Linked DNA regions of Homo sapiens: regions 1, 2, 3 and 5 are each linked to region 4. Evidence: promoter capture Hi-C in human tissues and cell types (Jung and others, 2019). All regions are on one chromosome and are shown on one strand. The core of a region is centred on a gene start or on the middle of the fragment in contact, and the rest is flanking DNA. Distances in the headings are between cores, read along the strand shown. Region 1 overlaps RAPGEF2 (Rap guanine nucleotide exchange factor 2). Region 2 overlaps RAPGEF2 (Rap guanine nucleotide exchange factor 2). Region 3 has its middle 270 kb from the start of MIR3688-1. Region 4 holds the start of C4orf46 (chromosome 4 open reading frame 46). Region 5 has its middle 310 kb from the start of MIR3688-1.

Region 1 (2,700 bases), core at 169-2,668, 560 kb after region 4:
TACAGGTGCCTGCCATCATGCCTGGCTAACTTTTGTATTTTTAGTAGAGACAGGCTTTCACCATGTTGGCTAGGCTGGTCTCGAACTCCTAACCTCAAGTGTTCTGCCCACCTCGGCCTTCCAAAGTGCTGGAATTACAGACATGAGCCACCGTGCCCAGCCTATGAAAAATTATCTTAATCTATACATCTGGTCTTTTGGAAAGCCCTTTGGATTCCCTGAATTTTTTGTGAGAAACTTTTCAGTTCTGTGTTTTTCCCCTTAGAAACTCTTCCAGGGTAATACCCTTTTATAGATTTGATTTTCTATAAGGGCATGCATTGTAATTATTGTTTTTGATTCTTTCCTTGTGTGTCCATCATTTCAAAGTTTGTCTTTGTTTATAATTTTACTTGTTGTGTAAGCATCTTGCTGTGCTAATGCATTCAAAGACTTCGTTTTTATTAATAACTTTTAACTGAAAGCTGAGAACCTGTTGTTGAGTATAATGTTAAATGCTCTGTGCATTTGATCACTTTTTCAGTGTAGAGCATTTCATTGTGCACACTGGATCCTCTACGGCTTGCCTGCACTCACACTCTTTATAAAATGTCTTGTACTTTGTTCTTACTGTTCTGGTTTTCTGTTTCACTCTCTCAAAGTGTATTTGTTATTTGCAATCCTGAAGATTTTGCACCATTTTTTTCCACTAAGTAATCTAAAATATTTAAAAGGATTGTTCTTTATATTGTCTGTGAGGTACTTTATCTCCTATACATCTTTATCTGTTGCCTTTAAGTCTGTCCTTATTTTCCAGAGCTGAATTTTTTCAGTTTATTTGTGTAGAACTTCGCCAAAGATTTTTGAAAATGTAGTAAATAATCATATTTACTTGCTTTTGTTTATGTATTTACTGTTTCAAAGAATCAGAGAGCAGAAGCAAAAGTAACTTGTGGACTTAATTTCTAGCTAACATTTTTTTTTCCATTGCTTTGTCTGTTTCTTCCAACCTTATAGCTTCTGGTTTGTGAGCTAAGAGCACATCATCTCTGTGAGAGAGCTCAGAGGCTTTGTCACTGATCAGGCCTAGCGTGTGCACTCATGACCTACTCTTTGGCTCCTTTGAGGCTGCTCTTCCTTTCTGCATTCCTGGCTGTGTTTGAAAAAATAGATTGTTGAGTAAATGAAGTAACATATTCTCCCTTGCTAATGTGTGTTCTGTGCACATTGCTTTTTCCATTCAGCTTATTCAATAAATATATCTGATGGAGAGTCTGCAGTTTCTCCTGTTCACATCTTTGTGACGGTTTATGGAACTCGAGTCTTTTTATGGTTGAAAAAGTTTCATCAGGCTGTAGTGCAACTGACTCTCTGAAAAACACTTATGGAAATGTTTTTGTGTAGCACATTTTAGGAAATGTAAACTTTTCATCCCCAAAGTAATAGTGTGCTAGTGCAACTTGAAGTGTGACTTCCTAGCCATGAAGTTCTGTTGAACGAATGACTAATTGGTAAGAGGATTTACGCCTTAAATCCTGGAGTGGTGAAGATGGTACTAGATTTATATATAAAATAAATAACAGTTATATAGTTTATTTATGTGAACATTAACATCTTTTGCTGCTAAAATTTGTAAACAATTCTAGCATATGTTTTTGTATCAAGTATTATATGAACAGTGTATACATTACAAACATTTATGATTTTTTACTATGTTACATTTAAAAACGCATAAACATTAGACCACTATATTTATAAACTTGTCCAAGTCTGTAACCTGCCACATATTTTACTAACACATTGAGATTATTTATTTGCAGTGTATAATTATAAGCTTCATTTTAAAAAATTAAATTGCAAATAGGTAGATTCAGAAACTCAAACTTTTGTGTATATTGAAGAGTTATGGAATTTCAGTTGTATTTAACTGTAAGCTAAAAGAAATGTGTAAAAATTCAGGTCATTTAAATTGCATGAGAAGTAACATGAAGATAGATTTATTATGTTGTTCCTGGCAAATGTTTTCACTTAAAAGTACTCTAATGTGTATGTTTGTGTGGGCATATATGTGTGAATGTATATATGAATATCAAAAAATTTTTTTTCAAATATGTTAAATATGATGCTGGTTTTGATTTTCATGGAAACTTTTTCTTCTTTTCAAGACAGGGTTTTACTCTGTTGCCCAGGCTAGAGTGCAGTGGCACATTCTTGGCTCACTGCAACCTCTGCCTCCCATGCTCAAGTGATCCTCCCATCTCAACTTCCTGAGTAGCTGGGACTACAGGCTTGTACCACCATGCCTGGCTAATTTTTGTATTTTTAGTAGAGACGGGGTTTCACCATGTTGCCCAAGCTGGTCTCGAACTCCTGGGCTCAAGTGATCAGCCCTCCTCAGGCTTCCAAAATGCTGGGATTACAAGCAGGTGCCATCGCGCGTGGCCGGAAATGATTTTGGAAAAGGACTTAATTATCTTTAACAATCAGATAATTATTATTAAGGAAAAGGACTTAAGTGATGGCCTAGTCTAACCTGATAACCTGTAAACAAATAAAATTTATCATATGATGTGGTCAAGATAGTTTGCTAGAGATTGCAGATGATAGAAGGAGAATGTTGGCTTTTCTGTTTTCTTCCTCTTACGTGACTTGGCTCCTAATACTTGAAATATGTGTATTACTATGACATAAAGAGGATTATAAATAGAACAAGAATTTCCA
Region 2 (2,717 bases), core at 217-2,716, 530 kb after region 4:
ATAAAGACCTTCATTATGGTCTCACTTCCTAATAAAATGGCTGGTTACACATCATCAGGTGTTGGATTCTTCGTATCAATTTTCTGTGAAACTGCTTAGTGAATAAAAACCTGTTTAGGGTAAGGTATAGGAGAAAAATACAGCTTGCTTTTTATATCCTTTCTGATGTGAGGGGTAGTGGTGCTGTCAGGTGTTTTGCAGTATTGTTGCAGTTTCTTGCTGTTGGGACTCCTATAGTGAAGTTAGGCAGATTTAGCTTTGAATTTGACTCTGTCTCTGGGTGTGTATAAGTTACCTTTCATTTTTCTGAGACCCAGGTGACTCCAGGTGAGAAACAGGTTTCTTGTGAAGATAAAATTGCAGCATATGAATCTAAAAGAGACATTTGTAAATTAATTTCATAACCCATTAGTAGTTTCCAAAAGAGTCAAAATTTCAGATTCTTTTAAATGTGATAAATTGTTCCTTGAGCCCTTGGATCTATTTCTTTACCCTCAGTTTAGCTGACTCATCGATTTGATGTAATCTCTCTCTCTCTCTATATATATATATAGTTTGTATTGGTGTTTTTCCTTTCATTTATCATTTATTGAATAGCTTCATAACTCCCAGTGTTTCACTCCTTCCTTTCATGTTAAAAATGAATTTCATAAATTTAAGATTGTGCCAGGCACAGTGGCTCATGCCTGTAATCCCAGCACCTTGGGAGGCTGAGGTGGGTGGATCGCTTGAGCCCAGGAGTTCGAGACCAGCCTGGACAAAATGGCACGACCCTATCTCTAAAAAAATACAAAAATTAGCCAGTGTGGTGGCGCACCTCTGTGGTCCCAGCACTGCTCAGGAGGCTGAGGTGGGAAGGTCACTTGAGCCTGGGAGGCGGAGGTTGCAGTGAGCCAAGAGTGCACCACCGCACTCTGGCCTGGGTGACAGTGAGACTTTGTCTCAAAAACAATAATAAAAATAATAAATAATGAAAAAAATGATAACATTAATGAGCCTATAGAATATCTGGCTTTACTGGTTCTTTAGTAGTTTACATTGTTTGCTAGTTAAAAAAAAAGGATGTCTGCTGTGTCCCCTGTATTTTCAGTATAAAGATGAAATGTCTTCAATATTTTCATCAGCTTTCAGAGTTCTTATTGATCTTACTGACTTTTCCTGTTTTGTTGGTTGCAATTCCTTGTAAATGAATTGCTATTGTTTGGAAAATAAGGATTTTTTTTGAAAATCTTAAAATGGTGTTTTCTTTCTTCAGAGTTTTTAATTATAAATGAAGTAATTTCCTTACAATTTAGAACTTTTAAGAAATAGAATAAAAATTACCCTCTACTTTAAAAATGTCATTTGTTTTCTTATTGTGGGAATTTATATATAATTGATATATTTACATATAACTCAGTATTATGAATAATATCATTTTATAATAAAATATCAGTATTCCAACAGTGGAAATTGTAAATACCAAAGCCCTTAACTCTTGTTAGTCCTCCTTCTAAAATTTGGCGTATACTTCATGTTTTAGTACATGCACTTTATATTTCTTTTGGCTTGATATCATTGTTGGGGTTGCTTACTGTGCTGTGTTGCATTAACTTATCTAGTGAGCTTGCTTTGTGCCATTTGACTATACAAAAATAAATAATGAAAACTTTGTCTATCAGCTTATAGCTCAGCGCTCCATCAGAGGAGTAAAAATATACAAATTTTTAAACTGTAATAAATCCAGTAACAGAAATGATGTAATGTATTTGTGAAAAAGATTAAAATTATTGTGTATCTGGAAAGCCATCTGTCTATTGGAAGGTGGCCATTGTTAGAACTTATTTTTTTGAAGCCGTGGAACACTTTGTTCATAGAAAATCCTGTTCAGCCCAACAATAGTAGCTATTATGGTTGAAAGAGGTTTGGACGCCTTGAAATCCCAAGGGCTCTTGACATTGAAAACCTCTGATCTCAACTGTCTGCGGGACGCCTATAAAAGGATAGAGGATAATTTGTTGTAAATAAGTAATTTTCACTGTGGTTTTTTGGCATAATCGTATATTTGAGAGCACAAGTCTAAGCTGGCCAGAAGTCTGTAATAACAGCAGTGTAGGTGAGCAAAAATGGGACCCTGAACTGTAGCAAAGGGTTTCGATAGAGACTTGGGAGGGGAACCCGCAGAATGTGATGATAGGCTGTGAAGAGGGAGAAGCTTCGGAAGTTGTCCCTTTATCTTTTGGTTGGAGGGTGTTGGTGAGACCGCAGATACAGGAAAATAAAGGTGTTTTTCTATTTTTTGGTCATGGGTGGCTGGCCCTCTGGAGTTCCTTGTGGTCCCCATGTAGTTATTGGAACCTTTGTTAGTCTTCATTTTATTTCACTTTCTTGTTTTATAGGCATGTGATCAATAGCCCTCGATGATGATTCCTGTCTCCTTTTCTCCAGATGCCAACAGCTTTGTCTTTTGAATGTGATACTGTGCGGTATTACATCCTGGATAGTATAAAGTGACCTTTCTAAAATAGCACCAAAATTGGTATTTGATGCTATATGTGGTTCTCAGTTGTGCCGAACCTGTCTCAGATAGCTGTGTCGTGTGCTCGGCTCAGCCACTGTTTCTGGACATTTTGCCTATTCTTTCTCACAAAGCAATCGCCATCTTTTTGCTTCTCTGTTTTAATGACCTTGTTAATGCTGTCCATGTGAAGCATTTAGAGGAGCTTCCTCACTCCCCT
Region 3 (2,700 bases), core at 65-2,564, 730 kb after region 4:
GAGGCTGAGGTGGGCGGATCACCTGAGGTCAGGAGTTTGAGACCAGCCTGGCCAACATGGCGAAACCCCATCTCTACTAAAAATACAAAAAATAGCCGGGCTTGGTGGTAGGCACTTGTAATCCCAGCTATTCAGGAGGCTGAGGCAGGAGAATCACTTGAACCCAGGAGGCGGAGGTTCCAGTGAGCTGAGATTAGTAATTAACTAGGCCCAATGCACCACTGCACTCCAGCCTGGGCAACAAGAGAGAAACTCCGTCTCAAAAAAAAAAAAAAAAAAAAAAAAAAAATTCTATGCTGTCAGTTCTTTTCTTGTAGCCCTTCAAAAATGTGGTTGTCACTTCCTTTTGGTCTCCATGGTTTCTCATGACAATATGTTGTCTATATTGTATTAAGTAAAATATGTTATTAAATTGTTTACCTATTTCTGTTTGATTTAAAGAAATGTGGCTAGTAGAAAATTTAAAATTATGTATGTGGTTCACATTATATTGCTATCAGATAGTGCTGCTTTGGCCAGGTGTGATGGCTCATGACTGTAATCTCAGCACTTTGGGAGGTTGAGGCAGGAGGATTGCTTGAGGCTAGGAGTTCGAGACCAGCCGGAGCAACAAAGTGAGACTGTCTCTACAAAAAAATAGCCCATGCCATTCTGTAGTCCTAGCTACTTGGGAGGCTGAGATGGGAGGATTGCTTGAGCCCAGGAGATTGTGGCTGCAATGAGCTATTATTGTGCCACTGCACTCCAGCCTGGGTGACAACAGAGCAAGACCCTGTCTCAACAACAACAACAACAACATAGTGCTGCTCTGACTGAGGTCTGGCTGCCCTTGAAAGCTTAGCTTCTTCAGAAGCCCTCTCACACATGGCTGGTCCTTTCCTCATGCTCTCTGTTCAGACAAGGCCTAGAGGTGGGGCAGGTAGCTCCTGGCTCCCCATTGCTCTTTCCAAGCCATTGGTCATAGTATTTCCTAAAACAGTTTTGATCTTCTGAAACTCATGCCATCAAACTAGACCTGCCTTTACCTCTTCACATTGCAATTCTCTACCATTCTCCTGGTTACTCCTTCCCCTCTTATTGACGATCTTCGTGTCCGGTTCACTGTTGTTCCTACCATCTTGACTCTGGGCATCATTCTTGTCATTGGCATGCCCCTAGATAGTCCATCAACACCCTGGCCTCTCTGTTCACTGTTTTCCTCACTTATAATGATATGTCCTCCATCATTATATCCTCAGCCACCTACTTTAATGGTCGTATCTTTGTCATCGCCTATGGTTTCACAACCTCCAAAATCTTAATTTCAAGCGTCCCAGTCTTTGAATTCTATCTCTTATGTTTATGGCTTATTTCCTCTAGGCTCCCCATTTCAACACTTTTTTTGTTGTTGTCGAGGTATTGCTATGTTGCTTAGGCTGGAGTGCAGTAGTGTGATCAGAGCTCACTGCAGCCTTGAACTCCTGGGCTCAAGCAATTCCCCCATCTCAGGTTCCTGAGTAGCCAGGATTACAGGCATGTGCCACCATGCCCAACTCATCAATTTATTGATTCCATTGGTACTTCCAATTAATTGATTCTATCAGCTTTTCACTTATGTATCTTAGAGTCTGTGGTTCATCATTGCAATTACTCCTTGCATATATCTTTAAGACCCTTTTATCCCCGCCTCTTTCCTTAGACCTTCTGGCAAACCCCTGAACCTGATTGAATTCAATTTTCCCTAACATCTATAACCAAGCAGCTACCATGGCCAGAAAATGACGACAACAACAACAACAACAACTGAACTAGTCTCAGTCTAAATTTGTAACATCAAACCTTGAGTGCTCCTTAGCATGGCCTATTAGTTTTGCGAGGTATCCCCTTACACTCTCATTTTTCTCCTCCTTCATGGCCACCAATATTAAATTTCAGCCGAGACCTTCCTTTCTATCGAACTGCAAAAGTATAATTAATCAGAAGAAAACATCTACTCCTTCCATTCACTGAGTCAGTCCACTTTATACGCAACTGTGGATATTCTCCGTTTTCCTTTCACATATAATGGGTGAATTGACCCTACTCTTACCTAAAGCCAATTTCTCTACTGTGCACCATATTTTATTCTTTCTCAATTCCTACAATTCTTCTTTCTCTGTCATTTATTATCTTTCCTCTAGCCTACTGGATTGTTCTCATTAGCATGCAAGTATGATACAGTCTTTGCCTTCTAATTACTGCTTGGATCTTCCGCTCCCCTTTGTAGCAGAACTCCTGGGAAGACTTGCTATGCTCTCTGCCTTCACTTCACTGCATCATCTCTCCAGAACCCTTTCTATCAGATATTCAAGCCCATCAGTCCAGAGCTATTGTCAATGTCAGTAACAACGTCTACATGGCCTCTTCTTCTTTTTTTGTTGTTTTTGAGATGGAGTTTTTCTCTTGTTGCCCAGGCTGGAGTGCAATGGCACGATCTCGGCTCACTGCAACCTCTACCTCTCAGGTTGAAGCGATTCTCCTGCCTCAGCCTCCCAAGTAGCTGGGATTACAGGCATGCACCACCATGGCTGGCTAATTTTGTATTTTTTGTAGAGATGGGATTGCTCCATGTTGGTCGGGCTGGTCTTGAATTCCCGACCTCGTGATTCGCTTGCCTCAGCCTCCCAAAGTGCTGGAATTACAGGCGTGAGCCACCGCGCTTGGCCTACATAGATTCTTCTA
Region 4 (2,700 bases), core at 23-2,522:
ATGATATAAAATAAAACAGTGTTCCTCAATAACACATTAGCACTTCATTCTACATATTTACTTGCAATCAGTTTGTTCTGCAAAAATAAAAGCTGGTTAAGCACTCTAGTCATCCTTAAAAAAAAATACTTGCGGAGCAATGAGATAATCTAGTTCATCCCCTAGTTTCCAATCTGCAGGAAAGGTCAGGCCACAGAACTCTCCCAGGTTACACTCTACATACCTCATTCCACTTGACCCACTCAAGAGAACATAAAACTCCCCTTCCCTGTCTTCTCCCCTCCAGTGGTGTGTGAGTTACGGTTGGGAGGTGGGGTGCTAGTTTCTGGGGATTCGAGATTTAACAGAAACTATCCTAAGTATGCATTCTAGCAATCATACAAAGGGAGGAGTCCTGAACTAAACCGTCAAAGAAGCCAATCCACGTGACCTAAACCCTTCAAGCTGGGTCCAGCGCTAAGCAGGCCTGGGGCAGACAATGGCATTATCAGCTGTCCCTGGGCAGGTGGCCAACTAGAACAGCAGGCTCTAAGTCCCATGGAAAGAAATCACAGCCTGATCTCAAGTACCCACAGAAAGCCAGCAAACTCATGCAGTGAAAACTATTCTCCGAAACCCATGCAATGAAAACTATTCTCCGATGGGAAAGGAGGAGGCAGAGAGCCAGCAACAGGCAGCGCAGAGCTGCGTGGCTTCGGGTTACTGCGGATGATTGAAACCAGAAGGCGAGACAAAAAGAAACCAGTGAGGGGTGGGGCGGGTGGAAGGAAAACCCCTTAAGACTCCTCACCACTAAATCTAAAGGGGGAACCCTCAGAGAGGGGTGGCACTTTAGCTGCTGGCATCCCCCCCGCTTCCCGCCCGCACGCTCTGGGGCGCAGAAGGGCCGGTCGTCCCGGGTCATGGGGGTTGGGGGACCGATTCCCTAGCCTCGCGAGCCCCGCCGCCGCCGGTCTTCCCAGAGGCGCCGAGGGGGGACGCGGTCCCGACACCACACTCACGTCTCCGATCTGCAGCTCCACTTCCTCCAGCTGGTCCACCGTTGGGCCGCTGCTCCTGCTCGGAACTGGCCAGCCCAAACTCACTGGGCCGCCCGGGGAAGATGCTGCAGAGGCGTCTGAAGAGGAGGGAGAAGAGGGAGGCGGCGGGGGCGGCGAAGAAACCTGCAACTCCTCAGGGTCGGCCATGGGGAAGGGTTGGGACCGCGGAATCCGACCCGAGAAGCCGAACCGACACCAACTGTCTTTTAACCACTCGCGCCCAAAGCCGAAAGGCCCCGCCTCCTAACGCCAGAAATCCCGCCCAGTCTCCTCGTGGGTCTCAGCCCCGGACCACAAAGACGTTTCATTTTTCGGGACAGCCAATCATATGAGTCAATTCACCTTAGGCAACTCACGGCTCCTGCGCGAGCCTCCAATCGATCTCGAAGGGCACTCGTAGAGAAAACTACACCTCCCAGGAAGCCGTGTGCGTCGCCCCGCCTTCTACTGCCTTTCACTGCGCGTGCGTCGTGCTGTGGGATTCGCGGACCCCTCTGGCCGCGCTGTGGCTGTTTCACCGCTCCCCGGCTGGGACTTGGAGTCCCTTATCTTTCCCTGGTTTGGTACATGACCCGGAAGCCTCGGCTGGCCGTTGCGTCATCCATGGCGCCGGCGCAGAGCGAGAAGGAGGTGGGAACGCCGTGAAGCAAGAGCGGTCGGCAGAGCGGGGAGGCGAACTGCAGCAGAGTTCTTGCTTTCCGGCAGGTGATGGCGCCCCCCGCGGCCTAGAGGTCCAGCGCCCGCCGCGAGCAGCGGACAGTCCTCCTGTTGTGTCCGACCGAGAGTCCTGGTGACTTTGAACATGCTGGTGCCGCTAGCCAAGCTGTCCTGCCTGGGTGAGAGGAAACGGGCGGTGGGGATAAGTGGAGGAGTTAGGGCAAAAGGGACAAGGCCGGTCCTGGGGGCTGTAGGCACCTCTCGCCCCTTCTCTCATCAGCTTTCTCAGGCTATCTAGGGCAAAGGTCACGCGCTGTCAGCCTGTTGGGGGACCCTGGCTTCCTCCCTCTGGGGTTGCCCCAGTTGGTAGAATTAATATCTAGGCTAAAGGTCAAGGGCGGGGAAAACTTGTCAACACGCCCTCGGCATCACCACCACCTGTCAACACACACACACCTCGGTGGACTCCTGAACTGAGGCTTCCCAAATCCTGGTTCTAATCTTCAAACCTCTGTTGGAAATGGAAAAAAAAAAATCGTATTTGCCCAGTTTTTCTCCCTGGTCCTGACCTGACTTTCGTCTTCGGAGCCATTCTAGTTCAGTCTAAAGAAATTGAAGTCTGATCTGTCACATCATGGTTAACATTCATATGTTGACCAAGTCACCCAAGTGTATCTGGAGCCAGTTTTTCTGCGTTGTCTAAAATTAAGGGCTGGGCGTGGTGGCTCAAGCCTGTAATCCCAGCACTCTGGGAGGCTGAGGCGGATGGATCACCTGAGGTCAGGAGTTCAAGACCAGCCTGGCCAACATTGTGAAACCCCATCTCTACTAAAAATACAAAAATTAGCTGGGCGTTGTGGCCCACTCCTGTAATCCCAGCTACTCAGGAGGCTTAGGTAGGAGAATCACTTGAACCCGGAGGTGGAGGTTGCAGTGAGCTGAGATCGCACCACTGCACTCCAGCCTAGGTGAAAGAGCCAGACTCCGTCTCAAAAAAAAATTA
Region 5 (2,700 bases), core at 89-2,588, 770 kb after region 4:
ATTTCTTTATGAATTTCTGTGTATCTCATGCTTCTTATCCTAACTTTCAACTTTAAGAAATTTTAAAATTATGCTTTCGAATGAGAACGTTGATAATGCTTTTACTCCTCTCACGGTGTGTATTAGTTTGTTAGGGCTATATGTCAAGGGTTCCCTAGAGAAACAGAATGCATATGTTATAAGGAATAGGCTCATGTGATTGTGGGGGCTGACCAGCCTCAAGATCTGCAGGGTGAGTAGGTGATATGGTTTGGATATTTGTCCCCTCCAAAGCTCATGTTGAAATGTGATCCCCAGTGTTGGAGGTGGGGCCTGATGGGAGTTGTTTGGGTCATGGGGGCAGGTCCCTCATGAATGGCTTGGTGTCCTCCCCACAGTAATGAGTGAGTTCTTGCGTTGTTAGTTCATGAGAGAGCTGGTTGTTTAGAAGTGTGTGGCATCTCTCTTGCTCCCTTTTCTTGCTATGTGAAACGTCTGTTCCCTTCTACCTTCTGCCATGAGTTAAAGCTTCCTAAGGCCTCACCAGAAGCCAAGCAGATGCTAGTGCCATGCTTGTACAGCCTGCAGAAATGTGAGCCAAATAAACCTATTTTCTTTATAAAATACTCATTCTCAGGTATTCCTTTACAGCAACACAAAACAGACTAACGTGGTAGGCAAGTTGGAGATCCAGGAAGAGCCAACGGGCAGTTTAAGTTTGAAGGCAGGAAATAGTCAATGCCCCAGGTGGAAGGCAGCCAGGCAGAAAGAGTTCTCTCTTACTCAATGGAGAGTCAGCCTTTTGTTCTATTCAGGCCTTTGACTGATCTGATGAGGCTCACCCACGTTAAGGAGGGCAATCTGCTTTATTCAGTCTAGGGATTTAAATGTTAATCTCATTTAAAAACATCCTCACAGAAACACCCAGAATAATGTTTGACCAAATTGGGCCACAGGTGGGCACTCTGTGGCCCAGTCAAATTGACACGTAAAGTTAACCATCACAGGCTGCCATACCAAAGTACCAAAGACTGTTGTTTAAGTGTCTTAAACAACATAACTGTATTTTCTCACAATTCTGGAGGCTAGAATTCCAAGATCAAGATGTTGGTAGAGTTAGTTTATTCTGAGGCCTCTCTTCTTGGCTTGTAGATGGCCATCTTCTCCCTTTGCCTTCACATCGTCTTCCCTCTGTGTGTGCTTGTATTCTAATTGTCTCTTCTTATAAGGGCACCAGTCATGTTGGACTAGGGCCTACCCATGTGAACTCATTAATTACTTCCGTAAACACCCCATCCTCACATATAGTCACATTCTGAGGTACTGGGACTTAGGACTTTGCTATATGAATGGTGAAGGAGTGAGGAGATGCAATTCATCCCATAACACAGCGGAAGTGCCTTTTTTTTTTTTTTTGAGATGGAGTCTTACTTTGTCCAGGCTGGAGTGTGAGGGCATGATCTTGGTTCACTGCAACCTCTGCCTCCCAGGTTCAAGCAATTCTCCTGCCTCAGCCTCACGAGTAGCTGGGATTACAGGCACTTGCCACCATGCTCTGCCAATTTTTGTACTTTTAGTGGAGACTGGGTTTCACCATGTTGGCCAGACTGGTCTCAAACTCCTGACCTCAAGTGATCTGCCCGCCTCAGCCTCCCAAAGTGCTGGGATTACAGGCATGAGCCACCACGCCTGGCCAGAAGTGCCATATTCGTTAATAAAGGTGTGTAAGATCTGAAAGTAGAAACAGAGTTTAGGATGTAGATTGTACTGGGAAGGCACAGGAATGGAACTAGACAGATAGGCACATGTACAGCTTGATTGGTCAAGCACGGTATCATATAGAATCTATAATAAATATTTAGTCCAGGGGCCCAGCTATCATCATTAAGTCCAAAAGAGAATGTAGGTACTTCCTAGGGGTATAACATAATGTCCTTCAAGAATATAGAACTAAGGACAATAAGACTACTCTGAAAGAATTAAATACATAACTATTCAAGAATCATCAGCATAAATATACATAATATAATCTTATAGTCCAGATCAAGTCTTGACTAAAATTATTGGCATATTTCTTTTCTTTCCCCTACAAAATACTATGTTAATTAATGAAGTGGGAGAAATTGGTCATCCATAGAAACATCAAAAACAAAAACAGATCAGCCTGTTTTAGGGGCAAATGTTGGCAACGACCACATAGGTGCACTCTGGGTAGAGAACATCTTGACCCAATGACTTGTCAGTTCTTTGAGCAGATAATATACCTTTTCTTGAGAGGATTGCATCATGTTTTGAGAGCCTGATAGTTTAACATTTAGATCTGTTAACTAACTCACATGTAAACCAGTGAGACCTGGTAACCTGAGAAGTTTGGCTATAGGAACAAAATATGCTGGCTAGATAATATGAAGTGCTAAACCCCTAACTAAATATATTTCTTGCTGAAAGTTTATAAATTGACACGCTGGCTTACACATGAGGATTTTGAAAGCTTTGTTACTATCAGTTGGTATCTTTGAACTTGGCCAATCATGAGACTTGGGAAAGTCAAACTTGTAGGTCTTTGTAAGAGTGAACTCTGTATTTTTGTTAATGTACTAAGGTACTGTCGCTCTTTGTGGCTTTGTGTCAGAAGCCTGAGGATAGTTTTGGCATTACTCCAACCTCATCATACCATTTGTGGTTGAATTTCTGCAATAATAATGGGGTATCTTAGTGTTA

What was found. The method cuts DNA at HindIII sites, captures the fragments that hold promoters and counts their contacts. A contact is called where the count stands out against the background at its distance.
Region 1: a fragment that was not itself captured here is called in contact with the fragment with the promoter of C4orf46 in region 4 in 1 of the 25 tissues and cell types used here (lymphoblastoid cells).
Region 2: a fragment that was not itself captured here is called in contact with the fragment with the promoter of C4orf46 in region 4 in 1 of the 25 tissues and cell types used here (aorta).
Region 3: a fragment that was not itself captured here is called in contact with the fragment with the promoter of C4orf46 in region 4 in 1 of the 25 tissues and cell types used here (lymphoblastoid cells).
Region 5: a fragment that was not itself captured here is called in contact with the fragment with the promoter of C4orf46 in region 4 in 1 of the 25 tissues and cell types used here (lymphoblastoid cells).

Annotation. Positions count from the first base shown.
Region 1 is chr4:159,234,898-159,237,597 of GRCh38, forward strand. All of the region lies in intron 4 of RAPGEF2 (Rap guanine nucleotide exchange factor 2), which reads left to right. Among named protein-coding and RNA genes, the nearest start is that of MIR3688-1, 110 kb to the left of the region's middle. The HindIII fragment of the contact is 3,683 bases long and covers 1-2,700 here.
Region 2 is chr4:159,199,522-159,202,238 of GRCh38, forward strand. All of the region lies in intron 3 of RAPGEF2 (Rap guanine nucleotide exchange factor 2), which reads left to right. Among named protein-coding and RNA genes, the nearest start is that of MIR3688-1, 72 kb to the left of the region's middle. The HindIII fragment of the contact is 4,702 bases long and covers 1-2,717 here.
Region 3 is chr4:159,402,482-159,405,181 of GRCh38, forward strand. No RefSeq gene overlaps it. Among named protein-coding and RNA genes, the nearest start is that of MIR3688-1, 270 kb to the left of the region's middle. RefSeq lists an enhancer at 1-41. The HindIII fragment of the contact is 5,698 bases long and covers 1-2,700 here.
Region 4 is chr4:158,670,615-158,673,314 of GRCh38, forward strand. C4orf46 (chromosome 4 open reading frame 46) reads right to left here and starts at 1,273. Exons shown (of 2, transcript NM_001008393.4): 1 at 1,002-1,273. The coding sequence starts at 1,187. ETFDH (electron transfer flavoprotein dehydrogenase) reads left to right here and starts at 1,682. Exons shown (of 13, transcript NM_004453.4): 1 at 1,682-1,876. The coding sequence starts at 1,843. RefSeq lists enhancers at 252-888, 889-1,525, 1,368-1,927, 1,529-2,030 and a silencer at 878-947. The HindIII fragment of the contact is 11,975 bases long and covers 1-2,700 here.
Region 5 is chr4:159,440,482-159,443,181 of GRCh38, forward strand. No RefSeq gene overlaps it. Among named protein-coding and RNA genes, the nearest start is that of MIR3688-1, 310 kb to the left of the region's middle. The HindIII fragment of the contact is 3,628 bases long and covers 1-2,700 here.